Regions from separate parts of the Homo sapiens genome. Here region 1 is linked to region 2. Evidence: promoter capture Hi-C in 16 types of primary human blood cells and fetal thymus (Javierre and others, 2016). All regions are on one chromosome and are shown on one strand. The core of a region is centred on a gene start or on the middle of the fragment in contact, and the rest is flanking DNA. Distances in the headings are between cores, read along the strand shown.

Region 1 (6,745 bases), core at 369-2,868, 38 kb before region 2:
AAACAATTCTGAGTTGTAACAGACCTCTGGACTTCCTTAGAGTCTGAGAAGATGAGTATGTAGGAAAGTGAGGCCCTACAATTATTAATATTGTTCTCTACCCAGGTATCCAAGTAATCTAGTCACCTGTTCATCAGCCCCTCTGACCATCCAGCCATCCATCCCTCGCTCTCTCTCTCATACACACACAACACACACTCACTCTCCTTCCTCTTCTTACCACCACATGTCCACTTATACCCTAGAAAAATAGAGGAACAAAATATTCTTGATCTGTAAGACACATTTTCACAAGAGAACTAGGTGTCAAGAAACTAAGTTAGAAAACAATGATTCAAAAATTTGCAGAAATACTAATTTTGAAAGTCTGTCCCTGAATTGAAAAAGAAGGATTAAGTCACTGTAAACATATCTGGGAGAAAAAAACACTGATACTTTGGATTCAAATCCTAAATTTTAGAGGGTGCCCTTCACCAAAGTTGCCATTGTGTTTCTTCAGCATCTTCATGATTTCTGCCATATGTAGGAACTACCTATTCGTTTAATTATTTCTGTAATTTGGCAAATTTCCTTTAAATTGGCACACTATCTTTAACTTATCATTTTAAAAAAATGGAGCTTCATCCAAAGCAGTACTCATGAAACTGTGAATTTGATACGATACTTATATGTATATTCTAATACAACGGTCTCCAATCTTTTTGGCACCAGGGGCCGGTTTTGTGGAAGACAATTTTTCCATGGACGGGTGGCAGGGGATTGTTTTGGGATGATTCAAGTGCATTACATTTATTGTGTACTTTATTCCTCTTGTTACTATACATTCACCATAATGTACAATCAGTGGGAGCCCTGAGCTTGTTTTCCTGCAACTAGATGGTCTCCTCTGGGTGTGACTGGAGACAGTGACAGATCATCAGGCATTAAACTCTCATAAGGAATGTGCAATCTGGATCCCTCGAATGTGCAGTTCACAATAGGGTTTGCACTCCTATGAGAATCTAATGGTACTGCTGATCTGACAGGAGGCGGAGCTCAGGTGAAAATGCTCACTCGTCCTGCCCACCTGCAGCTTACCTCCTAACAGGCTACAACAGTACTGGTCTGTGGCCCAGGGGTTGGGAACCCCGTTCTAATACACATTAAACAAATATGAAATTATTAAAATCTAAAAGTGAGTAAAGTTACCTTATGTACCACCAGTGGCATACATATCACTCTTTGAGAAGCTCTGATTAAGCTCATCAAATGTTTTAATTTTTGGAACAGCATTAAGTTACTCCTTACTAGAATGAGCTTTGAGCCACTCCAATAGAGCAGTTGTTCTTAATGCTGGCTGTACAACAGCAGAGCTCACCTGGAGCACTTTCTAAAACTCCCAACGCTGAACTCCACCCTCTGGGTGATGTCTGGCCACCTGTATTTTTTTAAAGCCCCAGGTAATTCTAAAGTACAAGTTAGGGTTGAGAATCAGTGCTTTTATAAGAAATGTGAATTAAACCACCACCCACCCTAATATCATTCAAATATGATTATACTCTGTATATCTAGTGGTAGATCAATTAACATGTTTTTGTGAGTGCTGTTTTTCAGTCTGCAAAATTTCAAGGGTCCTTAGAGCCATAAATTAAAATGGGATTGTAAAGTAGAAAATGTACCTGATGAAGCTAAAAGCCTGGACAAAGATAAACTGAGCCAATTGTAAAGGTTCAAAGCAGACTTCTGGTTTAGAACAAGCAGATATATGTAGCCAATTCCAATAGGTAATTTTCAAGTTTTCTATCTAGGTATCTTTTTTTTTTTTAAGAATTCAAATGACTTAGCCAATGGCTACTGCTTGCTCATCTTCACTTTTTTTTTGAGACACAGTCTCTCACTGTCACTCAGGCTGGAGTGCAGCAGTACAATCTTGGCTAACTGCAACCTCTGCCTCCTGGGTTCAAGTGATTCTCGTGCCTCAGTCTCCTGAGCAGCTGGGATTACAGTCATGTGCCATCATGCCTGGCTAATTTTTGTAATTTTAGTAGAGACAGGGTTTTGCCATGTTGGCCAGGCTGGTCTCAATCTCCTGACCTCAAGCAATCCACCCATCTTGGCCTCCCAAAGTGCTGGGATTACAGGTGTGAGCCACCATGGCTGGCCCCATCTTCACTTTATGGATCTATGCAAAATAATGCAGGTAAACCTCCAACATTTTGCTACAATATTAGACTACAAGCCAATTAGATACAGGAGAGAAGATCTAAAATACATAGTAAGATAAGCAGTTAAATCAGAAACCTTAAACAGCTATATTTATGTTTCTTTATATGTCACTTCACAATTAATAAAGCCTATTTTTGCCTTCCAAAAATGAAAACTGCCCTTTAGAATTGTATTTCTGAAAATGAGATATTTCATAAAAGAAAAAATTGAGTATATCTGTTTAAGATTTTATGAAGTTATTGTCATATTCTATGTATAAAGATAAATAAATCAACAAAAGATATATAAAAATGTAATTTTTTTTTTCTTGAGATGGAGTCTCACTCTGTCACCCAGGCTGGAGCGCAATGGCTCACTGCAACCTCCGCCTCCTGGGTTCAAGCAATTCTTCTGCCTCAGCCTCTTGAGTAGCTGGGATTACAGGCATGCACCACCGTGCCCAGCTAATTTTTGTATTTTTAGTAGAGATGGGGTTTCATCATGTTGGCCAGGCTGGTCTCCAACTCCTGACCTCAGGAGATCCGCCTGCCTCAGCCTCTCAAAGTGCTGGGATTACAGGCGTGAGCCACTGTGCCCAGTCAAAATGTGATTTTTATTAAAGGATTATTTTGCTAGATGAAGTACCTGAACTGGTTGTCTTTATTTGTCAAAAACTGAAACCAATGAATTTCTAAGAAATATTATTTAAAAAAATGGAAAAGATATTTTTATTTGTAAAATAATTCTTTTCCTACAAAAAGTTTTTAATTTAAGCATTCTAAATTATGTTAAAAATTATATCTCAAGCATTTTCAGTGCTAAGAATTGATCTTAAGGTATACTTACACAAATTTAAGAAGATACATATGAAAGGATATTCACAGCAGCAAAAAAACCACAAATGAATTAAATGTCCACCAATAGAGTACTGGGTAAAAAAAATTACACGCCACTATACAATGGATTACTAATGATGGCGCATCATTTCACTGAGGGGGAAGTGAGGAAATGGTCACACATGACAGCACCATCAGTTCAGGATGACTGGGTTGCTGGCCGGGAAATTAGGAATAAGGCAGAACTGGCTATTCATGTGAACAACATTTAAAAATCGGAAGTATAAAAGTGTTTGCCAATATTCATATAAAACTGAGAAGTATCTTCTTCAAATAAATAACTTCACCACAAATGACTGATCTTCTGGATTTAAGTTTACAGAACATTTTACTGGAACCATTGATCCAAATGATGTGGCATCCCACAAAACTTAGCTATAGATTGAATGGCATCGTAAGTGTTACACGTTTTTAAAAAGGCATTTTACATAATTGTCATAAGAAACAATACTAGCAAACTGGAAGCTTGCTGGCTACATGGCTGTCCTTGAAGTCCATGTAGTGAGAATGCCCTACAGGAGAGACTATCTTAGAAAAGTTATTCCAGTGACTAATACCTGAAATAATGTCCCAAACACTCTAGTTTATGATTAATTCTTAGATAGATTCAGGCTCTGGTGTATTTTATTAGAAAATAAGTTAATATTCTGGCAAAAATCTCTAACACCTGAATCAAATATAGATTTATGCCTGCAAAATAGGGCAGCTTGGTTTATAAATTTTTTAGAAGATCATTAAATAGTAACAGAGAAAGTAATTTCATATCCTCTCTGTCACTATGAGAGAATAGAATTACTTCCTTTGTTTACCAGTTGGGTTGAAAACAAAGAACATACCCACATGTAGAAGAAAAACCAAGAACATACCCCTCCATTAAAATTCATCCCACATACAAAGTTTCCTTTATGCTTCTGAGAGCCTATCTAGCTGTATAATCAAAGAAAATATGTTTCTAATAAACTTCAAATAGACACAGTACTACTATCCTTAACTGACGTGTTTTCATTTTTGCTAATAGAGTGAACATTTTAGCTAGAATTTCTCATTTTCTGTGCAAACTCATGTCATTTCAATTTTTCTTTTAATTTTTAACTTCTCTTCCACACTAGATTTTGCACTTGACTATTATCCTCTTTACCTCCTTAAATTTGTTTCGTGTTCACAGGACGTCAGTGAATGCAAAACATAAAACCATGATGCTACATCTTTCTAAAAGACTTAATAACATCAATTTTGTCCAGATTTGACTCTTGCTTCAAAGGGCTTACATACTATTTAAGAATAAATGATGGAATTCAGGACTTAAGAGGCAAAATAAGACTACTCTCCATTTTCTCTATTATGCTTTCCATTTCTGTGGTTGTGTGATCTTCTTTCATAAATCCTAGCTCTACCTTCTCTGTATTCTAATTGGGCATGAACCTTTTCCATCACCAGTGCTAGCCCCAATAAACAAATTTCATCCATTCAATTTACCACATATATCTAGCTGTTCTCATTTATTATGTAAAAGGAAAAGTAGTGCTCAATTGATTTACATTTGTATGGTTAGATGATTAATAATATAGAATAAGAAGGAAGAAAATGATTAAAAAACAAAAATTTGTATGGTAATTTAGTTTTAAAAGTGATTTTAACCTTTATCAAACTTAATTCTCAAAATAACCCTCTGAGGCTGGGTGCAGTGGCTCATACCTGTAATCCCAGCACTTGGGAGGCTAAGGGGGGGTGGATCGCTTGAGCCCAGGAGTTCGAGACCAGCCTGGGCAACATGGCAAAACCCCATCTCCACCAAAAAAAAAAAAAAAAAAAATTAGCTGGCTGTGGTGGCATGCACCTGTAGTAGTCCCAGCTACTCGGGAGGCTGAGGTGGGAGGATAGCTTGAGCCCAGTAGGCAGAGGGTGCAGTAAGCTAAGATCACACCTCTGCAATCCAGCATGGGTGACAGAGCCAGACCCTATCTCAAATAAAATAAAATAAAAATAACCTTCTAAGATAGGTATTGCTACAGAAGGAGAAAGTGATGCTGAGACAGGTTAAATGACTTGCTTAAGGTCATGGGATGTCAAAGTTGAGATATGAAAATTTATCTTTGTCTCCAAATCCAGTGGTCTTTCCATCACTCCATGTTACCTTAAACTACTCAAGAAAGCACATTAACAACTACATTGAGCTAACAAAATTAAAGAATTCAACACCATATCTGTATTCCTTCACAACTTACATGCAAGAATCTAACTTTTACAATATTAAAGTATTAAAATGCTTATTATTCACAGTAAGAAGTATAAATGACATTTTCCAAAGAAACACAAAACCAGAGGAACTAGTGTAACAAACCCAATGTATCCATCTTTCAACGTCAATAATTACACATATATAATCAATATATTATTTATTCATCTCTACTCTGATCGTTACTCTTCCAACCCCAGATTGGTCTGAAGTACATTCCGGAAAGCATATGATTTAATTTGTAAATACCTTAGTATGTATCTTTAAAAGATTAATCTTTTTCAAAAAATACAATCACAATACCATTATCACACATAAAAAATTAATAATTCCTTAAAAATCAACCATATAATTTTTTTTTAACTTAAATTGTACTTGCTATCAGTCTCTACCTTTTGAAATAGGTGCAAAATATTTCAATAAAGCATTCTGATGTCCCCTTAGGAGGTTACTTAGTGTTCCAAGAAACATTCCATTCAAAATTACAAATTCATTGTGCCACAGAAACTCCTCCAGGGATAGAGGAGGACCTCCACAATGGAAGAACCAGATGGATAAAACATTTCATAAGGATTTACTATAGCAGAAGAATAACTTATACCAGCCTATGGCCTAACATAAAGAGTTCAAATCATTACCCCCAATTATACGACAATCCAATCAATATACAGAATGCTGGTCTTAGAGCACTGATAAAGCCAGAGATTTGTTTGGTATAGTCCTATTACAGACAGTACAGATTTTTAAGTTTCCCTTGGTGAAGTCCTATAGCAAAGTGCAACCATGTTTGATCTAGACTGTATCACAGAAAAAGGACAATTCTAAGATCTTCCAACAGGCAGAGGTACAAGCCATTCCTACTTATCTACTGTTCTTACCATATTAGAAAGCACAATACTATTCAAAACATTTAGCAAGACAGATAAACATCTTATTACGTTCATATTCCATTGAAGTTCAATATGTGCCAGACAACATGCTAATTATCATGGCTGCTGAGGAGTGACCACAGCTGAGGAGCTAATGCTCAAAGGGAGAGGTGAGGAGGAAGGGAGCACCATAAAAACAGATTAACTTAATTTTAATACAGTTGGTGCTAAGAAAGAAAAATGCACAGATTGTAATATGAGCACACGGAGGCCACAGAGCCTAACTATGGAGCTTAGAAATGGTTTCCAGGAGGAGATAATCTCCGAGCTGTATCTTAGAGTAGAATTAGCTAAACAAAGAAAGTGGGAAGGGAGTTCAACATAGGGCATAGCATGAGCAAAGACACTGAAATATAAAACAGCATGACATGCAGGAAACCAGAGCTCAAAGTGCAAGGTGAAGAATGGCAGGAAGTAAGGTCCCAGGAATAGGCAGAAGCCAGATAATGAAGATCTTGTGTTCTATGTTCAGCTTGGCCGGGTGACTAGGAGCCACCCTA
Region 2 (6,102 bases), core at 197-2,696:
GGAGCCTATATCATGTTACCTTTGAAAATATTTTAATCTAGAAACATCATACACTGTATACAAAATTCATGAATCCCTGACGCCTGGGCGTGGCCTTGGACATATTATTCTGAGCCATCTCCTATTTTCTTTCATATGTAAATGTTATTCTTGAGCTAGGAATAGGAGAGAAAGAGAAAATTGAAACAGCCAGACCAAGTGTTTTTGAATGCTCTTAAAAGACAAAAAAAAAAAAAAAGACAAAAGTTTGTATCACATCAGAAGTTCCCTACGTGCTCTTCAAAGCTGATTGCTTGCAGTTAAAAGAACCCAGAAGAAGCAGGCACGCCATGATTTTGAAGCTCCGTTTTTGTTCTGTTATTCAACTGCAGTCAACTTCCAACTGTTGAAAAAAAGATGATTTAGAATTAAAGGGTTGCTTGTCTGTGTCGCAAGGCCCTTCAACTTGTTCACCTGTGATATCCAGAGACTCCAAGATGTTGGTGAGTTTCTATTGCAATTGCCATATTGCCATGGTTTTGCCCTTTGTGTTGACTGTAGCATTGTGCTGTTTGAAGACAGAGCAGCATACTGCTTTGTGTAGTAAAAATTGATGGATAATGTACTTAAAGCTTTTAGATGTACACTATTCACATTCTAAATGACAGATACAAAAAGGAATAATCAGAATTTAGATTGTTGAATCATTGCCTCCAACAGCCAACTCTTACCGTGACAAAGTCAGTAGGGCTGATCTTAGAAGTGTAGGACTTGTGAGTGTTACGTGGTTGTACTAACTGGTACCTTAGTGGAGGGGCAGATAAGGTAAGTAGAAACAATGCCTGCTTTCTCCTCCATGTCTGGGTCCTACACATAGTCCCCAGTTTGCCTGGTTTGTAGAGGTTTAAACACAGAACAGAGGGTGTTGGGAATGAGACAAAGAGATTGTCACAGGAACATGGACCCACGGTTTTCCTTTGGTGATGAAAACAATCCTGTCAATATGGAAAACTGTGTTATCACAAAATGGGCTTAGCGAATAGAAGAAATGTCACCTACCAGCCGGAAACAACAATTCGCTGACCATCTTTGGCCTCTTGCCACTAAGGAGTTTTGGTTTTCCCATCTGTAGAAATTCTTAATTGAGTCCATCAGATTCCCAGTCATCCTAGCCATGGTTACCTTCTTCTCTAAGTTGGCAGGTTAGTGAGCTTAGGCTAGCACTTCAGCATCAAATTTAGACTTCATAATAAAGTAAATCACACAGGGAATAGCTGTCAGCATGGTGACCACCTTGTTGTCCATTCCTACTCAGGGACTGGCCTGAAGTGTTTTCACAGCCTGGGTCACTGTGATGTCCTGGCCCTGTTTGCTCAAAGTGTTCATCTCAGAGTGACTTGTGAGGTATTGCTGAGCACATAATGGTCAAGATAGCTGCATAAGCAGGCGTGGCCCCAAATGTAGTCACCTGACTTCAGAAAATCAATTTGGATTCTACAGAAAGGTTCTGTTGGATTCTGAGTGGAACCTCTTTGGATATGCCTTTGGATTTCAAGATTGAGCCAAGTGTTGACATGGGAAGATGCTCCAGTTCCTCCAGTTATCTCAAAGAAGCTCATTACCTTGCTAAGGGTATGGATTGTCCTTTTCCAGAAAAAATCCTCTTGATATTTTGCATGCACACATGCAAAAAATAATAACAACAGAAGCTGTTTTCCTGTATGTAATGAGAGTGTTCCTCAGGTTTCTGGTTTATCTTAATGGTATCTCACTCCTTTTCTTTTCCTTTCTTTCTTTCTTTGTCTGTGTGTGTGTTTGTGTGTGTGTGTTTATGTGTGTGTGAGAGAGAGAGAGAGAGACAGGGTCTTGCTCTGTCACCCAGGCTGGAGTGCAGTGGCATGATCTCTGCTCACTGCAGCCTTGACCTCCTGGGCTCAACTGATCCTCCATCTCAGCCTCCCAAGTTGCTGGGACTACAGGCATATACCACCACTGCTGGCTAATTTTTAATTTTTTTTTTCTTTGTAGAGACAGGGTCTTGCTTTGTTGCCCAAGCTGTTCTCAAACTCCTGTCCTCAAGGAATCCTTCTGTTTTGGCATCCCAAAGTGCTGAGATTACAGGCATGAGCCACTGTGCCTGGACTTTTTTTCTTTTTCTTGAGAGCCAGAGCAAAATTCAAATTTTATCAGTTTTAATTAATTATATTTTAAAAGTGGGAATTTGGCCAACAAAGTATCTTTCCTTTCTATACAAGAAGGGTATGGCGTTTGGCAATGAGCTCCTGAAAATGTAAAGAAAGCATGAGGATAACTTTGGGACTGATACTTGGGTCATTAAAAGTCTTGCAAAACTAGAATTTGTTTTCTTCTTCTTCCATTCTCTCTGTAGGCATTTAAACATACTCTCAGGCCAGGCACAGTGGCTCATGTCTGTAATCCCAGCACTTTGGGAGGCTGAGGCAGGTGGATTACTTGTGCTCAGGAGTTCGAGACCGTCCTGAATAACATGGTGAAACTCCATCTCTAAAAAAAAAATTAAAAATTAGTCAGGTGTGGTGGTGTGCGCCTGTAGTCCCAGCTACTCAGGAGGCTAAGGGAGGAAGATCAGTTGAGCCATGGTGTTGTCACTACACTCCAGCCTGGGTGATAGAGTGAGACCTTGTCTAAAAAAAAAAAAAAAAAGATACTCTGTTTTTTTTTGTTCTAAAAAATTAGACAATATTTTGTTTAAACTTGCTTAGTGATTTATTTATTTATTTATTATTTTTTATTTTTTTGAGACAGAGTCTTGCTGTTGCTCAGGCTGGAGTACAGCGGCATGATCTCGGCTCACTGCAACCTCTGCCTCCCGGGTTCAAGTGATTCTCCTGCCTCAGCCTCCCAAGTAGCTGGGACTATAGGGATGCACCACCATGCCCAACTAATTTTTGTATTTTTAGTAGAAATGGGTTTTGCCACATTGGCCAGGCTGGTCTTGAACTACTGAGCTCAAGTGATCCACCTGCCTCAGCCTCCCAAAGTGCTGGGATTACAGGCATGAGCCACCTCATCCAGCCTGATTTTTTTTTTTACCTTCAAATATATTTATTTACAGATTGAGTTTTAAAATTGTCTTAAAGTTCTTGTAGAGATTATGTCTTTTTTGTTTTGAGACGGAGTTTCACTCTATCGCCAGGCTGGAGTGCAGTGGCGCGATCTTGGCTCACTGCAACCTCTGCCTCCCGGGTTCAAGTGATTCTCCTGCCTCAGCCTCCTGACTAGCTGGGACTACAGGTGTGCGCCACCACGCCCAGCTAATTTTTTGTATTTTTAGTAGAGACGGGGTTTCACCATGTTGGCCAGGATGGCCTCCATCTCTTGACCTCGTGATCCACCTGCCTCGGCCGCCCAAAGTGCTGGGATTACAGGCATGAGCCACCTTGCTTGGACGAGATTATGTTTTACATATGCAATTCCTTCCTTTATCCTTTAAATATCCCCACGGATAAGGAGTGCCTCACCTCTGGACCTGGGCATTCTTCAGTATTCCAATACTGAGACTGGTTTTGTTTTTTCATTTTTCAACAACAATGTATGGAATTCTTACTCTGTGCCAAGCCCTATGCCGAGTACTTTAGTGCCTTATTTCAGGTATTGCTAGTCCTATTTCTCAGAAAAGGCAACCGAGACTCACAAGAGTTAAATAACTTGCCAGATGACACACAGCTAGAAAGCAGAGAAGCCAGAGTATTCAGATCCATGCCTCTCCACTTCTGCTTTCCCACTGTGCCTTTCACTTTCTTGGGAAGCCTTTTCCCTTGTTCTTCAACTTGGATTAGAATAGCCTGTAATTCTTCTCATGAAGACATGCCTCACTTTATACTAAATGTTACCCTCTTTAAATGATTTAAAATAATCCTGCAGTGATATTCTCCTTTCTCTCCACCTCTCTAAACAGAGCATCTGTTTAATTTGGGTTCTCTAACATTGGCATGTGTCTATAAATTAAGATTTTTGTACAATGTCTCACAGATGCTTTTACCACATTTAGTTTGTACTCCTTTTTTTCTTGGACGACTTAGTTCAAAAAAATTTATTTTGGTCAAACATATGATTTTAGCTTTTGAGGTTACCTAATAAATCACCAGCTTATAGACTCATAAAAATTTGGTTGGAGAGAGAACCTCAGAGATCTGCTCACCCAACATAATCATTGTATGGGCAAGGGAGGCTGCCAGCAGCTGTGGTCACCCTGGGCTGGTGCTCCAGGGGAGAGGGAATCTCAGTTACTCTACTTAAAACTTGAGATTACTACTTCTGAGGAATCATCCCAAAAGTTCACAAATCAGGAAGAGATATCTGAATGGGTGCTTTAAATTTTGTTTAAAAAAGAGAAAATAGGACTCATACCAAATGGCAGCTGGTTTTACTCCAGCCATTTTCAGGAATATCCCCAAAGAGTCTGGTACCACCAGACCGCCGCCTGGGCTGTGGTGGCTGGCAGGGGTTGTTCAGGGAAGGCAGCCTCTCTGACTAGGTTCCTGCCTGAGTCCAAATTAGAAAAGGGACATTTGGCTGCAGACTGGCCTCCAGGTGTTTGAAAGCCTATTTGTCCCTTGGTCACATTTCTTTTTTTTTCTTTTTTTGAGACGGGGTCTCTCTCTGTCACCTAGGCTGGAGTGCAGTGGCTTGATCTCGGCTCACTGCAACCTCTGCCTCCCAGGTTCAAGCGATGCTCCTGCCTCAGCCTCCCAAGTAGCTGGGACTACAGGTGCTTGCCACTACACCTGACTAACTTTTTGTATTTTTAGTACAGATGGGGGTTTCGCCATGTTGGCCAGGCTGGTCTCGAACTCCTGACCTCAGGTGATCCGCTTGCCTCAGCCTCCCAAAGTGCTGGGATTACAGGTGTGAGGCACCGTGCCCGGCCCCTTGGTCATATTTCTGTAAGTCCTTCTCTGCCCTTCTCAGACATGCAAGGGAAAGTCAGGAGAAGGGGACCAGAAGGTCTGGAGGGACAGGTGAAAAGGCACCAGAATGGAGAAGGTGGGTGTTACATGTGAGCTAGGCCAGCTTCCATCGCCACATGGCTTAGAAGACTGTCAGTGACACGTGGACAAGGCGTGGCTCTGGTAGTTAAAAAAAAAATCAGGCCGGGCGCGGTGGCTCACGCCTGTAATCCCAGCACTTTGGGAGGCCAAGGCGGGTGGATCACGAGGTCAGGAGATGAAGACCATCCTGGCTAATATGGTGAAACCCCATCTCTACTAAAAATACAAAAAATTAGCTGGGCGTGGTGGCGGGCACCTGTAGTCCCGGCTGCTCGGGAGGCTGAGGCAGGAGAATGGGGTGAACCTGGGAGGTGGAGCTTGCAGTGAGCCGAGATTGTGTCACCGCACTCCAGCCTGGGCGACAGAGCGAGACTCCGTCTCAAAAAAAAAAAAAGAAAAAAGAAAAAAAATCAATCCTTTACTTGCATCCCAAGTTCCTACTTTGGGAGAATAAACTCCAAATACTATCTCCTAAGGGAGGTTGATAAGTATTTGGCCATTAACTGTAGACTAATGTCATCCTCAAAATTTAATAAATGAAAAATGTAACACTCTCTTTTTTTTTTTCCCCCATTCCTTGCTGTTATTCTACTGATTGTGTTAACATAGTGTGGATTGAGGTTGGGTCAGCTTGTGGTTGAGCTTCCTGCCTTCCTGTTTGTAACTGAATTTTTCAAATTAAAAAAACATCCACTTTGTTCTGGCATAGTTGTATACATTATTCCAATATATTTAACAATGAGGCTGTTCTCATTTCACACAGAATAGCACACAGTGAAGACAGTCAGTGAGAACCAGAGCTATTGTTACAACTGACAGCAGCCAGCTCAGGAGGCAGAGGACGAGAGCGATCGGGCTGCACACACATGGATGAGGCTGATTTTTCAGAACACACGACTTATAAGCAGGAGGATTTGCCTTATGATGGGGACCTCTCTCAGATTAAGATAGGCAATGATTACAGTTTTACCTCAAAAAAGGATGGCCTTGAAGTCTTAAATCAAATTATTTTCATAGCAGATGACCCTCAAGAGAAGGCTATGCATAGTGAGACTTGTGGAAATACAGCTGTGACCATACCCCTGGGTAAAAT

What was found. The method cuts DNA at HindIII sites, captures the fragments that hold promoters and counts their contacts. A CHiCAGO score of 5 or more calls a contact.
Region 1: a fragment that was not itself captured here is called in contact with the fragment with the promoter of AKNAD1 in region 2 in 1 of 17 cell types (M2 macrophages); the score reaches 5.0 in M2 macrophages.

Annotation. Positions count from the first base shown.
Region 1 is chr1:108,889,813-108,896,557 of GRCh38, reverse strand. The region is part of intron 2 of GPSM2 (G protein signaling modulator 2); the gene reads right to left. Among named protein-coding and RNA genes, the nearest start is that of GPSM2, 16 kb to the right of the region's middle. The HindIII fragment of the contact is 3,859 bases long and covers 1-3,547 here.
Region 2 is chr1:108,852,438-108,858,539 of GRCh38, reverse strand. AKNAD1 (AKNA domain containing 1) reads left to right here and starts at 1,446. Exons shown (of 16, transcript NM_152763.5): 1 at 1,446-1,611; 2 at 5,773-6,102. The coding sequence starts at 5,876. SPATA42 (spermatogenesis associated 42) reads right to left here and starts at 1,323. Exons shown (of 3, transcript NR_034168.1): 1 at 1,039-1,323; 2 at 273-382; 3 at 16-155. The HindIII fragment of the contact is 6,949 bases long and covers 614-6,102 here.